Regions from separate parts of the Homo sapiens genome. Here regions 1 and 2 are each linked to region 3. The links are contacts of gene promoters, found by promoter capture Hi-C in human tissues and cell types (Jung and others, 2019). All regions are on one chromosome and are shown on one strand. The core of a region is centred on a gene start or on the middle of the fragment in contact, and the rest is flanking DNA. Distances in the headings are between cores, read along the strand shown.

Region 1 (2,865 bases), core at 50-2,549, 1.3 Mb after region 3:
AGACAGAGTCTCACTCCATCGTCTAGGCTGGAGTGCAGTGGCGCGATCTCGGCTCACTGCAACCTCCACCTCCTGGGTTCAAGCGATTCTCCTGCCTCAGCCTCCCAAGTAGTTGGGATTACAGGTGTGCACCACCATGCTCGGCTAATTTTTGTATATTTATTTATTTATTTGAGACAGAGTTTCGCTCTTTTTGCCCAGGCTGGAGTGCAGTGGCGTGATCTCGGCTCACTGCAACCTCCGCCTTCCGGGTTCAAGCAATTCTCCTGCCTCAGCTTCCAGAGTAACTGGGATTACAGGCATGCGTCACCACGCCTGGCTAATTTTGTATTTTTTAGTAGAGACAGGGTTTCTTCACGTTGGCCAGGCTAGTCTCGAACTCCCGACCTCAGGTGATCTGCCCACCTCGGCCTCCCAAAGTGCTGAGATTACAGGTGTGAGCCACCGTGCCCAGCCCCTAATATTTGTATTTTTTTTTTTTTTTTTTTAGTAGAGATGAGGTTTCACCATGTTGGCCAGGCTGGTCTTAAATTCCTGACCTCAAGTGATCCGCCTGCCTTGGCCTCCCAAAGTACTGGGATTACAGGCATAAGCCACCGCGCCCAGCTCTCGTTTATTTTTATTTATTTGAAACAGGGTCTTGCTCTGTTGCCCAGGCTGGAGTGCTGTGGTGCAATCAAGGCTCACTGCAGCCTCGATGTCTCCAGCAATCCTCCTGCCTCAGCCTCCCAAGTAGCTGGGGTTACAGACGCACGCCACCACACCTGGCTAATTTTTGTTATTTTTAGTAGAGATGAGGTCTCCTTACGATGCCCAAGCTGGTCTCAAACTCCTGGCCTCAAGTGATTCTCCTGCCTCGGCCTCCCAAACTGCTGTAATTACAGGCCACCGCGCCTGGCCTAGCCTACTTTAAGGCCGGCACTGCACTTGACAAACACTAACTCAGATCAGAATCCTCCCACAACTCTGTGAGGTTGGGTACTCTCGCTATGAGCTACTTGACGGATGGGGAAACTGAGGCTCAAAGAGGTTAAGTAACGCGTCCAAAGCCACAAGACTAGAAAGTGGTGGAGCTGGGACTCGAACCAGGCCCAAGACTCTATGCTTTTAACAGCCGTGCGTATAGTAGAAGCTCTTTACAAGCAGCTGGGAAAATGAGATGTTGCTTGGCTAGGACGGGCTCTAGACGCTTGGTGCAGCTTCCAGCCCCTCCCACCCGCTCTCTGAAAGCCCCGCCCAAGACTCGGCCCCTCTTCGTCCTCCCCCATCCCCCGCTCCGGGAACGGCCCTTCCTCCGCCTTCTGGGCGGAGCCCGCGCGGGATCCGGGTGGCTGCAGGCTGCTGGCTTCTGCGGCTGCGGGGTCGGGGTCGCGGCCAGGGCCAAGCCGCAGCGAGTTCACAGGCGGAACCCCTGCAGGCGGCGCCCCCTACGCGAGGTCACCCCTGGGAAGGAGCGCAGCCCACCCGGCCCCTCCGCATCCGAGCAGGTCTGTGGGGTACGGGGGTTTGGGAGGAAGGTAGGGGGTCTGGGGAACAAAGGCGGGGCTGCGGGGAACGCCTCTGCCCTCGCCCCCACCCAGCTGGGCACTTGGGAAGCGCTGATGGGGCGCGGGCGGGGCAGAGAGCCCAGCTGGGGACAGGCGTTGGGACCATATGGTGATGGGGGAAACTCCTGAGTCCACCTGCATTGGCTGGGGCGCCCCAAATCTAGTGAAGGGGAACAGAGGCGAGCCCTCCGGGGCCAGGCTTGAGGGAGGGTCGGCAGATGGTTAGAAAGAGGCGGGACCGACTGACACAGGTGAGCTAAGGCTGGGGGAGGTGGGGGCCCCAGCCTTGCGGCCCTGCCCTGCGTGGGGAAAGGTTTCCTGCCTCTTCTCTTCCCCTCCTTAAACTCGTTCTCCTGGAACACGGGGTGGGGCCGGTTGGGTCCTGGTTTAAAATGGAAAAAAGCCCCAAAGGCAGTTGAGAAATAGCTGTGCCAGGGCTGTCTCTGCCTCTGCCCCGCCTGCATCCAGGCCTTCTGCAGCCTCTCCGTGCGGTTCCCGCAGCGGCCATAGACAGCTGGGGAAACTGAGGCCTGGGAGAGGTTATGAGGGTTGAGGGAGCACCTTGGACTCGGATGAAGCAGCATGTTGGAGTGTGGGCAGATTCAAGGAGCCTAGCCGTGGGACAGATTGCCTGGAAAGACCAAGGGTGGGCGGCAGTGGTCGTGGTGGTGGGGTTGTGTTAATTAAGTGGCTGGGATCGTTTCCTTGGGTATAAGGACTCTCACTCCTGCCTCCGTGGACTGGGGCTGGAGTGAGTCAGCCTTGGGCAGAAGGAGACAGGCCTGGCCCCTTTGACAAATAGAAAATAGCAGTACCCATTTAGGGGGTAGAACTGGACTCTAAACCTGGGCCCTGTACATAGAAAACCCCTTCCCCTTGGAACTCAGAGAAGGGGTTGTATTTGGCATGAGTTGGTGGGCGGCAGGCGCCCCAGTGGCTGACACCTGCCAAAGTCAACACCCAAGCCTTAATCAGGGGCTCTATCCAGCTTATCCAGCTGGCAGGTCCTCCCCCCACCCCACCCCAGCTTACACCTGGGCCACACCGGCTGCACACGCTGGGGCGAAGTCCACACCTGTGCCTTCTCCAGAATCTAGTTCTGCAGGGGCCAGAGCCCCTTACCCTCGGCCTTGCACTTGAACCCTTTGCTAGGCCTCTGGGTTTCCAGATAGGAAAGGTCTCCCCACCCTCCACCCCAATACAGACTCAGTTACGCCACAGGGTGTGAAGATTAAACAGCAGTCACATTTTTTGTGCCCCAGCTCTATACCAGGCACTGTCTAATGACCGTTACGTGTGTTAATACCTTCCCACTGGA
Region 2 (2,760 bases), core at 221-2,720, 1.1 Mb after region 3:
TGCCCAATCACAAGAGTTCTGATGAGGTGGATGTCCTGCGGCTGCGCAGAGTCCTTGAGGCATCCTAAGGGTAGGTTCTTGCATCCTAGTCTCCATGCCAGCTCACTGCGCCACAGAGGCTGAGGGACTGCAGAAATGGGCTTATGAGGGCAGATAGCCTTCCTTCCCGGGGGACACTGTTATTGCCAATAGCCCATTTTATGTGCTTATCCACCTTAGTTATTAACAGCCTAAATCTGGTGCTTTCTGGGGGAGACCAGGAGCCCCCATTACTCAATCTCACCTCGTTTTATCCCATTTCCTCCAAAGACTCCACTCCGACCACACAGAGTCTTTGCTGTTGTTCCCAGTGCCAAAAGCGTTCCCCAGATATCCAGATGGCTCACTCACTTCCTCCGGCCTTTACTCAAAGGACACCTCACTGAGGCCTTCCTATTTATTTATTTACTGAGACGGAGTCTCACTCTGTCGCCCAGGCTGGAGTGCAGTGGTGCTATATCGGCTCGCTGCAACCTCCACCTCCTGGGTTCAAGCAATTCTCGTGCCTCAGCCTCCCGAGTAGCTGGGATCACAGGAGCACGCCACCACGCCCCACTAATTTTTATTTATTTATTTATTTTTTGAGACAGAGTCTCGCTCTGTTGCTGAGGCTGGAGTGCAGTGGTGTTATCCTGGCTCACTGCAACCTCCGTCTCCCGGGTTCAAGCGATTCTCCTGCCTCAACCTCCCGAGAAGCTGGGATTACAGGCACCCACCACCATGCCCTGCTAACTTTGTATTTTTAGTAGAGACGGGGTTTCATCATGTTGGCCAGGCTGGTCTCGAACTCCTGACCTCAGGTGATCCGCAGGCCTCGGCCTCCCAAAGTGTTGGGATTACAGGCGTGAGCCACCGCGCCCTGCCCTATTTATTTATTATTACTATTTTTAGAAACAGGGTCTCACTCTGTTGCCCAGGCTGGAGTGCAGGGGTGCAATCATGGCTCGCTGTAGCCTCGACCTCCAGGGCTCAAGCGATCCTCCCGTTTCAGCCTCCCGAATAGCTGGGACTATGAGCATGCGCCATCATGCCCAGTTAATTTTTAAATTTTTTGTAGATAAGGGGGTCTCGCTATGTTGCCCAGGCTGGTCTCGAACTTCTGGCCTCCCAAAGTGCTGGGATTACAGGCATGAGCCACCGTACCGGCCCCCTTTCACTTTTTGTTTTTTTTTAATTCATTTTCTCATTTCAGCCGCTGGGGCCTGCGACTGGATTCATAGACTATGACTCCCAAGTCCAGCCTCCCGGGCCATTTCAAGGTTCCCAGGTCTGGAGTGCGTCTTGCCTCATTAGAGGCTGGGCCTGGCTCGTTATGAGGCGGGTCCCAGATCCTTCCGCCTTCCTATTGGCCCACCTCGCGTTGTGGGCGGGACCTATTACACCAGCTTTCTTGATTTGCTACCTCCCTGGAGCTCCCTGACCCGGACGCTCTCTGGGCCAATATGGCAGCGCCCAGCAACAAGACAGAGCTGGCCTGGAGTCCGCGGCTGGCCGCGTGAGTAGGTAGGTCGCGCGCGGGTAGGCGAACGCGAACTGCTGGGCTGCAGGCGGGCCCTTCAGGACCCGGCAGCGCGAGAGGGCAGCCCTGGAGGGACCCAGCTGCAGGGCCAGGGCGCCATGACCTTTCGTAGTGGGGGCGGGGACGCGCTGGGAAAGGCCGCCTGTCTTGTGCCAGCCGCCTCACGCCCCCAGTCTCCCATTTTGCAGATGACCTCGCGAGAGGTCACGCCGCAAGTCGGCAACCGGGCAGGATTTGGAATCCGCGTCTGCCTTTTTCCCCCAAGAGACCCAGAATCCTGGCAGCCGGTTTCAAAGCTGTTGTACGTACACCATACCTCGGGGTTCAGATTTATAGGTGTTTTTTTGAAATTGAGGCTTGTTTCCGTTCAGTTGTTACTCGTTAGGCATCTGTCATATACCAGGCACTGTCCTTGGTGCTGGAGACACAGCAATGAGGAAGATAGATAAAAATCTCTCATCTCCTGGGGGAACCAGACTTTGAACAAATTAGAAATAAACGAAACAGGTGATTTCAGATACTGATAAGTTACTAAAAATGCGTTAATGGTGTCGGGAATTTCGCTTGAGCCCAGGAGTTTCGAGACCAGCCTTGGCAACATAGCAAGACCCTGTTCTCTACAAAAAATTATCTGGGCGTAGTGGTGCACGCCTGTAGTCCTAGCTACTCGGGAAGCTGAGGTGGGAGGATTGCTTGAGCCCAGGAGGTTGAGGCTGTAGTGAGCCGTGATTGTGCCACTGCACCCCAGCCTGGGCAACAGAGCAGGACCCTGTCTCCGAAACAAAAATTAATAGGGTGATGAGGGCTTTTAGAATGTGGGGAATGGGAGATGGTCAAAGAAGACCTTTCATTGAAATGACCAGAGACAGCTGTGGGCAGATCTGGAGGAAGAAAGCTCTAGACAGAGAGAAAAGCAAGTACAAAGGTTCTGAGATGGGATAAACTTAGTTTCTTTCAGAAACAGTGTAGCTGAAGCTGCCAGTGGTAGGAGTTGAGTTTAGAGGGGTAGACCCTATCTGATTTTATTTATTTATTTTTATTTTTTAGAGACAGGATCTCACTTGTTCGTCAAGCCTGGAGTGCAGTGGTGCAGTGCACTCCATAGCTCACTGCAGCCTCAAACTCCATGGCTCAAGTGATTCTCCTGCCTCAGCTTTCCCAGTAGCTGGAACTACAGGTGCACACCACCAGGTCCAGCTAAT
Region 3 (2,766 bases), core at 175-2,674:
TCGAACTCCTGACCTCAGGTGATCTGCCTGCCTTGGCCTCCCAAAGTGCTGGGATTACAGGCATGAGCCACCATGCCTTGCCTTAACTTTTATATCGTGTGTGATGAATTTATATCATGGTGTGAATTTTCTGGAGCATTTTACAGGCAGAGATTGCTTAATCATGGGTATATGTTCTGAGAAACGTGTTGTAGGTGATTTCCTCATGGTACAAACATCACAAAGTGAACTTACACAAATCTAGATGGTATAGCTACAACACATCTAGACTATATGGTACAGTCTATTGCTACTAGGCTATAAACCATACAACATGTTGTTGTACTGAACACTGTAGGAAATTGTAACAAAATGTTAAGTATTTATGAGTCTAAACACAGAAAATACACAGAGTAAACATGCAGTATAAAAGATAAAAAAGGATGCACCTGCATAGGACACTCCATGAACATAGCTTGCAGGACTAGAAGTTGCTCTGGGTGAGTCAGTTGAGTGGTGAGTGAATGCGAAGGCCCAGGATGTTACTGTACACTAATGGAGAATTTATAAACACTGTACACTTGGACTACACTACATTCATAAAAACATTTTTTCCTCAATAATGAATAAACCTTAACTTACTGTACATTATTTTCTTTATAAACTTATTTTTAAAAACTTTGTAATAATTTAGCTTAAAACACATTGTACAGCTGTACAAAAATATTTTATGTCCATATTCTATAAGCTTTTTCTATTAAATTTTTTTAAACTATTTTTGTTAAAGACTAACTAAGACACAAACACACATTAGTGTAGGACTACACGGGGTGAGGATCATCAATATCATTGTCTTCTGCCTCCATGTTTTGTCCCGCCAGAATACGTTCAGGGGCAGTCCTGCACATGGAGCCGTCATCGCCTATCATAACAAAGTTTTTCCGGGAATATCTCCTTAAGGACCTGCCTGAGACTGTCTTACTGTTAAAAAAACACAGGAATACATTCTAAAACAGGATTGTAAATATATAAACCAGTAACTTAGCCATTTATTATCAAGTATATATTGCACATCTGTGCTGTAATTTTTTTTTTTTCGAGACGGAGTCTCGCTCTGTCACCCAGGCTGGAGTGTAGTGGTAGATCTCAGCTCACTGCAATCTCCACCTCCCGGGTTCAAGCGATTCTCCTGCTTTGGCCTCCCAAGTAGCTGGGACTACAGGCACACCAGAACGCCCAGCTAATTTTCGTATTTCTAATGGAGACAGGGTTTCATCATGTTGACCAGGCTGGTCTTGAACTCCTGACCTCAACTGATTCTCCCACCTCAGCCTCCCAAAGTGCTGGGATTACAGGTATGAGCCACTGTGCCCAGCCAATTTTTTTTTTTTTTTTTTGATACAGTCTCACTGTCACCCATGCTGGACTGCCATCACGTGATCTTGGTTCACTGTAGCCTTGAACTCCTGGGCTCAGGCAATCCTCCTGCCTCAGCCTCCCATGTAGATGGGACTACAGGGTGTGCTACCACACTTAGAAAATGTTTTTATTTTTTGTAGAGACAGGGTCTCACTAGGTTGACCAGAGTAGTCCTGGCATCAAGCAATCCTACTGCCTTAGTCTCCCAGTGTTGGGATCACAGGTGTGACCATGCCCAGCTGTGTTGTACTTTTTTTTTTTTTTTTTTTTTGAGACAGAGTCTCGCTCTGTTGGCCGGATCTCAGCTCACTGTCAGCTCGGCCTCCTGGGTTTATGCCATTCTCCTGCCTCAGCCTCCCAAGTAGCTGGGACTACAGGCGCCCACCACCACGCCCGGCTAATTGTTTGTATTTTTAGTAGAGATGGGGTTTTACCGTGTTAGCCAGGATGGTCTTGATCTCCTGGCCTCGTGATCCGCCCGCCTTGGCCTCCCAAAGTGCTGGGATTACAGGCGTGAGCCACCGTCCCCGGCCGCTGTCTTGTACTTTTATACAACTGAAAGTGCAGCACGTTTACACCAGCACCATAAACACTTAAATAATGTGCTGCACTATGGTGTTACTACTGCTACTAAATTGCGGTTGATAGAAATGTTTTAGGTGTTATATAATCTTATGGGGCTACCAACCTATATGGTCCATTGCTGACTGAAACATGATTATGTGGTACCTGACTATACATGAATCATCTTGTATCTCGCTTTCTATATTACTTACATTGACAGGATTTCTCTCTTCAGTGGGAATTTTCACAACTTTGAAAGCATCTGTTAGAATTGAAAACTTTCTCCTATTTCTCACATTTATAGAGTTTCTATCGATTGTGCATTCTCATATGTTTTTTTAAGGATGTGGACACACTGAAGGCTTTTCCACATTGCTTACATTCAAGAGGTTTCTCATAATTGTGAATTCTTGTATGTCTTTGAAAGGAACTGTGAAGACTAAAGGCCTTCCCACATTCTTTACATTTATAGGGTTTCTCTCCAGTATGCATTCTCATGTGTCCTTGAAAGCTTGTGGGATAAATAAAGGCCTTCCCGCATTCCTTACATTCATAAGGTTTCTCCCCAGTGTGAGTTCTTTTATGTATCCGAATGTAACTAGAACAACTAAAGGCTTTTCCACATTGTTTACATTCATAGGGTTTCTCTCCAGTGTGAGTTCTTTCATGTGTTCGTAACGCACTAGGAAAAATGAACACCTTCCCACAGTCCCTACATTTATAAGGTCCGTCTCCAGTGTGGGTGATCATGTGTCTTCGAAAGTTCTCAAGAGAAATGAAGGTTTTTGCACATTCCTTACACTC

What was found. Contacts are between HindIII fragments. The study calls those that stand out against the background at their distance.
Region 1: the fragment with the promoter of RAB3D here is called in contact with a fragment that was not itself captured in region 3 in 2 of the 25 tissues and cell types used here (heart right ventricle and small bowel).
Region 2: the fragment with the promoter of ECSIT here is called in contact with a fragment that was not itself captured in region 3 in 1 of the 25 tissues and cell types used here (dorsolateral prefrontal cortex).

The regions. Positions count from the first base shown.
Region 1 is chr19:11,338,091-11,340,955 of GRCh38, reverse strand. It overlaps RAB3D (RAB3D, member RAS oncogene family), which reads left to right and starts at 1,299. Exons shown (of 5, transcript NM_004283.4): 1 at 1,299-1,487. RefSeq lists a silencer at 1,257-1,516. The HindIII fragment of the contact is 13,813 bases long and covers 1-1,506 here.
Region 2 is chr19:11,527,844-11,530,603 of GRCh38, reverse strand. ECSIT (ECSIT signaling integrator) reads left to right here and starts at 1,470. Exons shown (of 8, transcript NM_016581.5): 1 at 1,470-1,542. The HindIII fragment of the contact is 19,805 bases long and covers 1-2,760 here.
Region 3 is chr19:12,628,766-12,631,531 of GRCh38, reverse strand. It overlaps ZNF791 (zinc finger protein 791), which reads right to left. Exons shown (of 4, transcript NM_153358.3): 4 at 1-2,766. The coding sequence ends at 2,272. Among named protein-coding and RNA genes, the nearest start is that of ZNF791, 19 kb to the right of the region's middle. The HindIII fragment of the contact is 6,065 bases long and covers 1-2,766 here.